Regions from separate parts of the Homo sapiens genome. Here region 2 is linked to region 1. The links are contacts of gene promoters, found by promoter capture Hi-C in blood cells and fetal thymus (Javierre and others, 2016). All regions are on one chromosome and are shown on one strand. The core of a region is centred on a gene start or on the middle of the fragment in contact, and the rest is flanking DNA. Distances in the headings are between cores, read along the strand shown. Region 1 holds the start of MAP4K3 (mitogen-activated protein kinase kinase kinase kinase 3). Region 2 holds the start of FAM98A (family with sequence similarity 98 member A).

Region 1 (5,355 bases), core at 305-2,804:
TTACTTGCCAAGTATCTCATACATTGTAGGTGGGCTCAATATATCTATATTGCATAGTAGGAAAAGTGATGAGATCCACGATGGTGAAAAGTAGATCATCCAGAAAATCAGACTAAAGCAGAACACTGGCTGCACTGTATTAAATATGTAAGTTACCACAGGCATTACACTGAAGAGTAAAAACCTGCTTAAACATGGGCAAAATAAAGTTAAGACTGAACTTTCCAATGCAAAATTAAGTTTCTTTGTGCATCCTCAGGTGTTATGTGAAACTGGAGGAGTTCAACTTCAGTTACCAGTAAGAAGATACACAACTAAATCAAGACTGCTGCCACATTTGGCAACAACCTCCTCTCTTCTTGGCAGTAACTGTGAGGCCAAGAGTTGAGTTGGCCAGGGAAGAGTGATTTATCTTCCCACATTTAGAAGTGGTCCCTCTACAACAGGAATGCTGTACCGCTACTGGACTTTGAATTCTAACCTTGTCAAACCAGTACCTTCCCTAAGTATTCAAGTCACTTTTTAAAAAACAAGTTTAAATGGCATCGCAGTCCAATTCGACTTAGAGAAAACAAAGTTGCTCTTTCCAAAAAAAAAAAAAAGTCATTACTCTGGAAAATTAAAAGAAACTGACAGGGGGATGAATAAGGCGCTAAAGGCTGAGAGCTGTCGATGGAAGATGGAGGTCGCTCAGCATAGTATAATAACTACCACCGAGGCCTGGTGGGCAGCAGCTCCCAACCTAGAGCGGACGACCCCAGGTTGGCGTGAAGCAGGCAGGTTTGACAACACCAGACCCCTGCTGTCCGGTTCGTCGCGCTGACCCTGCCAACGCAACAAACGCCCAGACCTTCTCTGCACTATGGATGAGCAGTGTGGCCTGCTCTCGTTCTGCCCTTCCCTGGAAATGCGCGCAAGAAGGGAGGTGGCAAAAATCATGTCCACCGGGGGGGCTCAGGTAAGGGCTGGGGAGGTCTCGGGGTTAAACATTCGGCCCTTTGTTCACCAAGGCAGCAGAGCCCTTGGCGTCCGCAGCTCCTCCTCCCCGACTGCTCCCTGGCGCCAGCGTCTCCCGAGGACAGGCGGCAAGGGCTCGGACGCCCAGGCTTGGCTGCGGGTCGGGATCCCACGGCCTCGGCGGCGCGCGGCCCCTGCCTTTACCTTGTAGACGTCGCCGTAGGTGCCGCTGCCGATGCGCTGAATCAGCTCGAAGTCCTCCTGCGGGTTCCGGCGGGACAAATCGAAGCCGGGGTTCATGGCGGGCCCCAGGTGCCCCCCGCCTCCCTCCCGGGCAGGGGAGGGGGGCCGCTCAGGGGGCCACACGGAGAGAGGGCGCCGCGGCCGGCTCCCGGCTCCCCCGGCGGTCACAATCACCCGGCTCCACGCTGCGGCCGCCGCCGCCGCCGCCGCTCCCCTCACGCCGCTGCGGACGACGACAAGCGGCCAATCGTCCCCGCCCCCCGCGGCCCGCCGCCGCGCCGAACCTGGTCACACCCACAAGGAGAGGAGAACCCTCGCAGCCCCTCGCTCGGGGTGAAACTCCAACATGGCTTCCGCTTTCGCCGCTCCTCCCCCTCCCCTTACTCCGGCTCCTCCAACCTCCTCCCCTTTTCCCGACTCCCGCCCGACTGCGCAGCCGCGATCCCGGAGGGAGCGCGCCAGGCCTGGCGCGCACCCGACCCCTTGCGCGTTCCGGCTCCGCGCGCCTGCCAGGCCGGGGCCGGCGGCGGAACAGCTTGGGACCCGAAACGCCTCGGCTTTTCTGCGGACCCGCGCCCGGCCGCTGCCGCCGGACGCTTGAAAAGGTTTGCCTGGCCCAGGGACCGGGGTTAGGACTAGCAGAAAGTGGCTTCTTTTCGTTTCTGATTCCCCTAACGACAAAGTTGGACCTTGGTCTATCTGGTCCCAGTTCCAAGCAGGTAGCATAGTGGTAATATCCAAGACAGCCAATGTCCCAGCCTTTATTATTTTAGAAGCAGCTACATGTAGGATACCATGGAGTGCTGCAGCCTTTCTGGGATTGCGGGGAGGGGTCACTAAACACACCGTGAGGAAAACCCCCAGGAAAAGTGAGCTGTGCTTGCTTGCCCCTGTCACCGACACTCGGACCCTTGGAGTTGGCCTGCCAGGGTGCAAAGGAGGGCAGGCCAGGAGGGCCGCGAGGGAGGTGTGTGCAGTGGGCAGAGCGTGAAAGCTCCGGGAGGAAAACACGCGGAACAGCTGCCCACCATCCCGCGTGGGAGGCAGGCAGAGCGCAGAACTAAAGCAGTGATTGACCTCCCTCTTCGAAGAGGGTTGGATTATCAAAGACGGGCGGGGACTGCGCAGGCTGTCAAGCAACCCTGTAAAGAAGGGGTGGAGAGTGGACTAGATCTATTACCGCACCTGAAATATAAACACGTGACGATCCGGAAGCTCTTTAGCTGTGACCTTACCTACCCAAAAACCCCACCCTGCTTAAGACCCAGATTGCGCGTCTTACATCTGAGCTATGTGGACTCCAGCTCCGATTGTTAATACTTGCCCAAGAAAGCTTGAGGGTAATGGAAGGTTATTTTTCTGTTCTCATTGAACTTCCCAATAGACATTTGCAGGAGCTTTAATCAATTAGGTGATGGCCACTTTGGCAATACCACGTTGGAGTTTTGCTTCAGAAATGCTTTCCTAATCCCCTTAGGCACCACACCTTCTAACCACTAATATTCCCTAATACCTCGTGGCTCCTGAGAAACTAGGTCTCATCAAACCTGTTAAGGATAAGTATAATAAATTAATAGTAGAGCAAACTACTTAGAGTTAACTGCTTCATACTTTTTCAAAAAATCTTTTGAATCCTTTTGCTCATAGGAAAATTGCATATGTACTAAATTCTCAAATTGTTTACTTTGAGTATCTGTTGACTAAATTGATGTTTGAAAATGGTTATCTCTTCACCTATATAAGTAGCCTTTCAGTTGTGTAATTTTTAATTATTAAATTTTAAAGCATCAGTAATATGAAAGTATCACTTAAATTATTGCCTTAGGAGTGCATATCATTGAATATCTTCTCGATGGATCTACCTTCAGGCTCTGGTATCTTGAGAAACTCCTGACTATAAATGTTATTCCATAGCCAAAGGTCTTGCTTTTGCTTGTTTAAGGTACTTGCCCAGGACCCAGATTACAGGCCTTCCTTCAGTTTGTCCACATTTGGAGAATTGTTTGGCATGTTTAGGCCAAGCGCAAGAATAATTAGCCAAGGATTCAGATAAGCAGACCTGACAAATTATCCCAAATGGAAGCCAGGTCTGCTCTTTTCCTCTGCCTTTTTTTTTTTTTTTTTTTTGAGAAGGAGTTTCGCTCTAGTTGTCCAGGCTTGAGTGCAAGGGTGCAATCTCAGCTCACTGAAACCTCTGCCTCCCGGGTTCTTAGCGATTCTCCTGCCTCAGCCTCCCAAGTAGCTGGGATCACAGGCATGCAACACCACACCCAGCTAATTTTTGTATTTTTAGTAGAGATGGGATTTCTCCTTGTTGGTCAGGCTGCTCTTGAACTCCCGACCTCAGATGATCCGCCTGCCTCGGCCTCCTGAAGTGGTGGGATTACAGGCATGAGCCACTGCACCCGGCCTCTGCCTTTTTAGTGCCAGAAAGCCAAATTCTCAGGACTGAAAGCTGCACAAGAAAGTTCTAATGACTTCAGTGTTTTGTTTGCTGAGATTATCGTCTGTCCAAATAACTTTGCATTTGCATCACTAATAGACTGCTTTCAAAAGGAAAAGACATTTCAGTAGGGCTAGAACAGTCTTTAAAGTTTTGTCTGTTCCATTTTGGCAGGGCCAAGCTAGTCCTTTTGAGAAGAGATGAATTTCCATGTAAGGGCCTGATTTGCCATGTGGGTTACAACATAAGTAAAACAACTGCTCACAAAGAAAATATTTTGTTTTTTGTAATATATGCATGTGGCCAATTCCAGTGCCTTTTCCCCCTGTTCTAACAATCCTCAGTTTTGCTAGAAGTAACACTAATGATCACACTTTCCTAGAATCAGAGAAAGAGCTTCCCTCTTCTATGATTAGAAGCATTCTTAGAAGTCATCTAATCTTTTTAACTCAGGAACTGCTTCTACAGCATCTCTGCTGGATTTGCTGCTGCTTGAATACTTTCAATAAAAGGTGACTCATTGCTTCCCAAAACAACCCACCTCGTTGTGATACAGTGCTAGTAAATGATCATAATAACTAGGAGAAAAGTAGTAATTTCTAACATTGCTAAGTGCTTACAAGATACCAGGAATGGAGCCAAGTATTTTTCATGTGTTATTTCATTTAATTCGCACAACAACCTAATGACATAGGTAATATTATCTCCATTTTATGAGGCACAGACAGATTAAACTGCTCAAGGTAACACAGAAGGCTGAAATTTGAACAAAGGCAGTATGACACCAAGGCTAGATTCTTAGCCACTAGTCTATACTCTGCTTATATACAATATACTGTAAAAAATTTCTCTTATGGTAAGCCAACCTCTACCTCCCTGTAATGTATTTAGAGGCAATGATTATTAGATTCTGGTGGTATTGAATACAGAAAAGAAAAGCCACAATGCCTTCCCTCAAGGAGTTGACAGTCTCATAAATAGTGTGAGAAGCACAGAGAAGGGACATTAATGCAGACGGGAGGAAGATTTAGGAATGACCCCTTGGCTGGGCGCAGTGGCTCATGCCTGTAATCCCAACACTTTGGGAGGCCGAGGCGGGTGGATCACCTGAGGTCAGGAGTTCAAGACCAGCCTGGCCAACATGGTGAAACCCCATCTCTACTAAAAATACAAAAATTAGCTGGGCGCGGTGGCACGTCCCCTGTAATCACAGCTACTCGGGAGGCTGAGGCAGGAGAATCACTTGAGCCGGGAGGTGGAGGTTGCAGTGAGCTGAGACTGCACCATTGCACTCCAGCCTGGGCAACAGAGGAAGCGTCCGTCTCAAAAAAAAAAAAAAAAAAAAAAAAAGGAATAACCCTAAAGCTGAACCTTGAAAAATGCATAGGCAGACAAGGGAAAGTGGTGCATGACAGGCTGGCTGCTTAGCGCCTTGAAGCACCTACCCGTTTAAGCATCACACAGCAAGGAACACAAGAAGGCCAAGATAGGCAGCAGTCCCCACCTGCCAGCATGTCCAGGCCATCCTTCTATTGCCCCATCCCCCATGGGTTTCTGGCTTAGGAACCCCTTGATCCCCTGCACAGGCTCCCAATTTCATCCTCGACCTCTTGTCTGACAACTCACTGGAGCCCCTTCTTTGGCCTATTAACCTCAGCCCTCCTCATATAACATAACCACCACTCACATTTTCAGTACATTAGCTGCTCTGG
Region 2 (5,413 bases), core at 288-2,787, 5.8 Mb before region 1:
ACTTTATTCTGGTATTTCAACTTCTGAATCACCTCTAAAAACAACGGACGGAAAAAAAATCTTGGCTTCTTTACAAATTTTTTACATTTACAAAAACTTGCAACTTTCAGCTTTAGTATTGATAATGTTCAGTTGACAATACCTCAATGTTATTTTTATACTTTGTACCTAAAAGTGAATGTTTACTTACTGTTAGTTGCTTGCACGTTTTCCTCTAGTTTACAGAGCACTCTTAATTCAGACACCAGCCAAGCACAGAGTTTGGTAAACTCGGGGGAACTGGCTCCAGCAGAGACTGCCTGAGAGAGCGCTCCATCTTCCAACAATGGGCCCTTGTAACTGGTGAGCAAGAAATTACATTTCAGAAGAAAATACAATCATACCTAATATATTACAGATAAAACATATCTATGTCTTATTTATATAAGCAATAATTTAATAAAGATAAGTTAGTACTTATCTTTATTTTAAATGGACAAATATAAACATAATTTAGAACTATACTGAACCATTACAAAAAGCAGCTAAATGGTAGCTGCATTTCAACCTTTCAAAATGTAGGTGAATATCTAACAGAATTGCATATACTACTAAATTATGTCAACTTCTGTACATTTACTAAAAGCTTCCATTGTAAAAAGATTTATTTTCTTACTGTAATTGAATTGAGTATTAAAAGCAAATTAACAAGTAATAGCTAATTATACTGTAACTTATTTCAGAAATAAAACTTAGGTTATCTTTTCTAAAAATTTTCCAGAAAACAACTAGATTATGTTTTTATTTTGAGATGAGGTCTTGCACTGTCACATAGGCTGAAGTGCAGTGAAGGCACAAGCCACCAAACCTGGCTTTTTTTTTATTTTTTATAAAATAGCCAGGGGTCTTACTATGTTGCCCAGGCTTAGTTAGGTTTTTAATGACTTCCTTTAAAAGTAAAAACTTTCCAGTTAACCATTTATATCATTTTTATAAATTTAATGCCAGTTAAGACTAGTAAGACATTCTAGTACCAAAGAAACGTCAGGTTAGGTTAATAAATATTGGCAGTTAATGAACTGGCGCATCTGAATCCTAATCCTTTGTAAGTGATTCCAATATAATTTTAAAAAATTTAAAAATGTTCAAACATTCATAAAAGATGACAGTCATAATGAACTCCAATCACCAATATTCTAAAATATAAGATTTCTGTCACTCCAAGTAATCTTAAATACATATTATTCAGATTGCTTTACATTCTCTTAAATATTGATAATAATGCTTACTTAAGATGATACAATAAATATGCTTAAGATAATATAATGTTTAGGCCAGGCGTGGTGGCTCACGCCTGTAATCCCAGCACTTTGGGAGGCCGAGGCAGGTGGATCACGAGGTCAGGAGACCAAGACGATCCTGGCTAACACGATGAAACCCCATCTCTAATAAAAATACAAAAAAATTAACCAGGCATGGTGGAGGGCGCCTGTAGTCTCAGCTACTCAGGAGGCTGAGGCAGGAGAATGGCTTGAATCCAGGAGGCAGAGCTTGCAGTTAGCCGAGATCGCACTACTGCACTCCAGCCTGGGCGACAGAGCAAGACTCCGTATCAAAAAAAAAAAAAAAAAAAGATAATATAATGTTGAGAACTACAGGTATGTTAGAGAAATGACAGTTCTCAAACCCTTTAAAATATGATTATAGGTTTATACAGTATATGCAACAAAATGAAAACAAATCATACATAAAAAAATGAGATCACATGTAGTCTGGCATCTAGATTTATAAACTATGTATTATTAGACACTGAAATCAAAAGACTAGGCCTAGAAGTTTCTCCTTGAGTTTCACATTTAGACTTCATTAGTTTATTCAACAAGTAGTTACTGAATTCCTACTGTGTGCCAGGTAAGAGATAAAAGATGACTATTTGCCAGGATCAGTGGCATACACCTGTAGTCCCAGCTACTCCGGAGCCTGAAGTGGGAGGATCGCTTGAGGCTAGGAGTTCGAGACCAGCCTGGTCACCAGAGCAAGACCTCATCTCTTAATAAATAAATAAATAGAAAAGGTAGTCATTTAATTCTAATATTTCTCAGTTAATCCTTTAAAAGTACATTTCAGTTAATTAAGGCTGACTTTTAATATTTGAATGCCACCAAACTAAGTAGTTAAGGTTAAAATTTATAACAGTTTTCAGAAAATCCATGGTTTACATTACACTCTATGTCAAGTAGTTATGTGATTACAATTACTACAGTAACAATTACTTGTACAGTACCCAAAAGAATAAAAAGTTAAAAAAAGGAGGGGGAAAAAAAAAGACAATAATGGGAAGAAACAGCATCCGTGGCCAATTCTTAAGTGACCACTATCCATGCAGAAAGACTACATTTAATAAGGTCTACCCCCTTCCTTTCATTCCACTCATTCCACTACAGTACTATAGTGTCATTTATTCCAGAAAGAAGCTTCTAGGATTTCATTTCCTTTCCCAGTAAAGGGACCCTCCTCAGGGCTCCTCACAGCATATTTTCCCAGTATCCTGTGAACCCCTCTTCCACCTCACCTTGTACTCTAAGGGCCTAACACTGCCACAAAGAAACTGTTCCTAAAAAAGTCCTAATGAATGAATGGTTTCATGTGTGAACAAGCGATTCAGTCTGAGATGTCAACTAAAGAGACTATTTTGCTGAATGACTTTAACATATGCCCTAATGAAAGAAAGAAGCCCCCTAAAGTCTGGAATATTTATAAAAATTCAGAGCAAGTTTCCAAGAAAAGAACAATAGTATTTCACTGTGACAAAGACAGATGATAAGCAAGACTACTTCGTTCCTAAAAATTTCTACTAGGGTAGTAAATTATTCAAATAGGCAGACTTTGGGAATCCTCAAGGTGTTTTTTCCTAAAGAAAGGTTTCTCTCAAAGGTTTCCTTGTCATGGAAAAACCTAAGAGAAAATTTTGATAAAGAACTTGTTACTTAGAAATACAGCTAGCTAAATCTGTACTTTGTTTTGATACCGTACCTGTAGGTAAGTATCTAACCATACAATTTGTTTCTGGAACCACATTTAGCCCAAGAGGGTCCACGTTCTCAAGTTTAATAGAGTACACTGATCTGGGTGACCCAGTGAGATAACAAACCCTATTTCCAGCTTCTAGATACTGATGAATTATGGTTGAATAAATATCAGGAGAAGGAGAGACACAATGCAAAACAAATACGCAGGTTCTTCGTGGGTGAAGACGACCCTGGTCTAATGGGGCTCAACGAGGCAGAGTATCACAGAGTCAAAGCAAACTGCTGGTGGTTCCCAGGGACGTGGTGATAGGTTAGATGCACAAGCGAGCTGGCCAGCGGAACAGATGCAGCGCCCATACAAGTGGCTTAGCGAAGCCTGGGTGCATGCAGAGATGACTGGGCAAAGGAGAAATTTTGAGAGAAGTGGGGTGGGGTAGGAGGAGGGGCTCAAGATGGGAGTAGGAAATTTGGAGAACAAGTAGGAAAGCAGAATCAACTTTGGCAACCTTTAGAGTTGAGGGGTTAAGGGGTAGGGCAGGAGGATGAAGCGAGGAGAGAAGCTCGGGGAGTGGGGGTGGCGAAAATCAGAGCCCAGACAATGACACGCATGACTGACAAACGCTGCGGGTAGCTCGCCTGCAGGGAGCACTGGGCAGGCCTAGGGGTGTTGGGATTGGAGGACCCCGAGCTAGCAGTGCAGACAGTGGACGTGGCATTGGGGGTGCCGGGGCCAAAGGGAAGCGACAGCCAGGAGCCACGGGGTGCGGCGTGGAGAGGCAGGTGTCTCAGACTGGGGCGCAGGAGGTGTTCCCAGGGGGCCGGCAGCGTGGGGCTTGGGAGACCCGTGCCCTGACAATCTTACCCTAGATCTTCCAACGACTCCAAGATGTCAGTCTCCATGAGGTCACACTCCATGCTACTGTGGTATTCAAATTTCCGAGTCGTCAGGCTCCCCTCTTCGCCGGCAACGCGTACACTCGCGCATGCGCGACTTCCCCGGAACTTCCAAATCCACAGCTGGCGCCTCAGCTCCCGCACTGCGCATGTCCGGAGCGTGCGCAAGAAACTTGGTCCCACTGACCGCCCCACCCCTGCCCACTAAAGAATTACAGGGCCCGCAGTTTTGCACATGCGCGTTACTGGATCGTGAAGCTAGCCGCCCAGAGAAGGGTAGGAGGACCGGCTGCGTGGCAGCTGGGCGTGGGGACCACGCGAAGGGGAGCGCTCTCGGCTCTCGTTATTGGGTGTACGCATGTGCGAATGTAGGGGGCGCGGCGGGCCGGGAAGGAGCTTGGAAGAGTCTCGGGACGCGGGTGGAGTCGGCTGTTAAACCGAGTCTCTGCATCCCAGACAGGAGATCGGGTGGCTCTTCGTAGGGTGCCGGCATGTGCTAGCCTTAGCTTGCAGGTCATGTAGAAAGGGAGAATTCTTGCGCTCCCGTCTTCAGGACGCGGGTGCGGGCCAAGTGCAGACGGCAGATAGCGTGCCATTTGATTTCCTCGTGGCTGCAGTAGCTTTATTTCAGGGTTAGGGATGAGCCAACTTTCCGCAGACTATGGATGTTCAGAAAGTTGGGTCGTTTTCCCTCATGCATTCTCTACCTGATGTCTAAAGCCCTTCCCAGACACTAAGCATGTTATTTTAAGGAGAAGGGGAGCTTCACTCCATAGCAAATAGAATAGAATATTTTTAAATCCACGTAGTTTAGACAGTGAATAAACTTTTTGGCTGTACTGTCATTACTTTTGACATTATTTGCCCGGGTGAAACATTGAGTTCACGATGTGGATGTGTTGTGATATCTTGGCAGTTACTGAGGGTGTGTTTAGAAATTACTGAAAAATCAGAAATGTTTTCAAAGTGATGGCATATTTAGAAAACTATATTTAACCATAAGTTGGCGTACTGTTAAATCGTGTAGGCATTTAATTAAAGAGTTTTCATATTGATACCTGTTGATTTTATTCTATAGTTCTCAAGCATTTTTGTGTCTGATGGATAGATGTTCCTATCCTTAGTAGTACCTTTTTCTTTTCTTTCTTTTTTTTTTTTTTTTTTTATGAGACGGAGTCTTGCTCTGTCGCTCAGGCTGGAGTGCAGTGGTGCGATCTCGGCTCACTGCAAGCTCCGCCTCCCGGGTTCACGCCATTATTCTGCCTCAGCCTCCCAAGTAGCTGGGACCACAGGCGTTCACCACCACACCCAGCTAATTTTTTGTATTTTTAGTAGAGACGGGGTTTCACCATGTTAGCCAGGATGGTCTCGATCTCCTGACCTTGTGGTCCGCCCACCTTGGCCTCCCAAAGTGCTGGGATTACAGGCGTGAGCCACCGCGCCCGGCCAGTAGTACCTTTTTCAGTTTCCTTATTTTGCATCATCTGAAGTGGGGGTAGGTTTTCTGCACT

What was found. The method cuts DNA at HindIII sites, captures the fragments that hold promoters and counts their contacts. A CHiCAGO score of 5 or more calls a contact.
Region 2: a contact is called between a fragment that was not itself captured here and the fragment with the promoter of MAP4K3 in region 1, in 1 of 17 cell types (non-activated CD4 T cells). The highest score is 5.3, in non-activated CD4 T cells.

What each region holds. Positions count from the first base shown.
Region 1 is chr2:39,435,731-39,441,085 of GRCh38, forward strand. MAP4K3 (mitogen-activated protein kinase kinase kinase kinase 3) reads right to left here and starts at 1,555. Exons shown (of 34, transcript NM_003618.4): 1 at 1,162-1,555. The coding sequence starts at 1,257. MAP4K3-DT (MAP4K3 divergent transcript) reads left to right here and starts at 1,686. Exons shown (of 6, transcript NR_037875.1): 1 at 1,686-1,805. RefSeq lists an enhancer at 749-828 and silencers at 1,159-1,518, 1,589-1,808. The HindIII fragment of the contact is 5,405 bases long and covers 1-2,531 here.
Region 2 is chr2:33,595,299-33,600,711 of GRCh38, forward strand. It overlaps FAM98A (family with sequence similarity 98 member A), which reads right to left and starts at 4,001. Exons shown (of 8, transcript NM_015475.5): 1 at 3,871-4,001; 2 at 191-339. The coding sequence starts at 3,923. It overlaps LOC105374455 (a long non-coding RNA gene), which reads left to right and starts at 4,047. Exons shown (of 3, transcript XR_939942.3): 1 at 4,047-5,413. RefSeq lists enhancers at 3,255-3,444, 3,995-4,064, 4,095-4,144, 4,285-4,514. The HindIII fragment of the contact is 1,828 bases long and covers 624-2,451 here.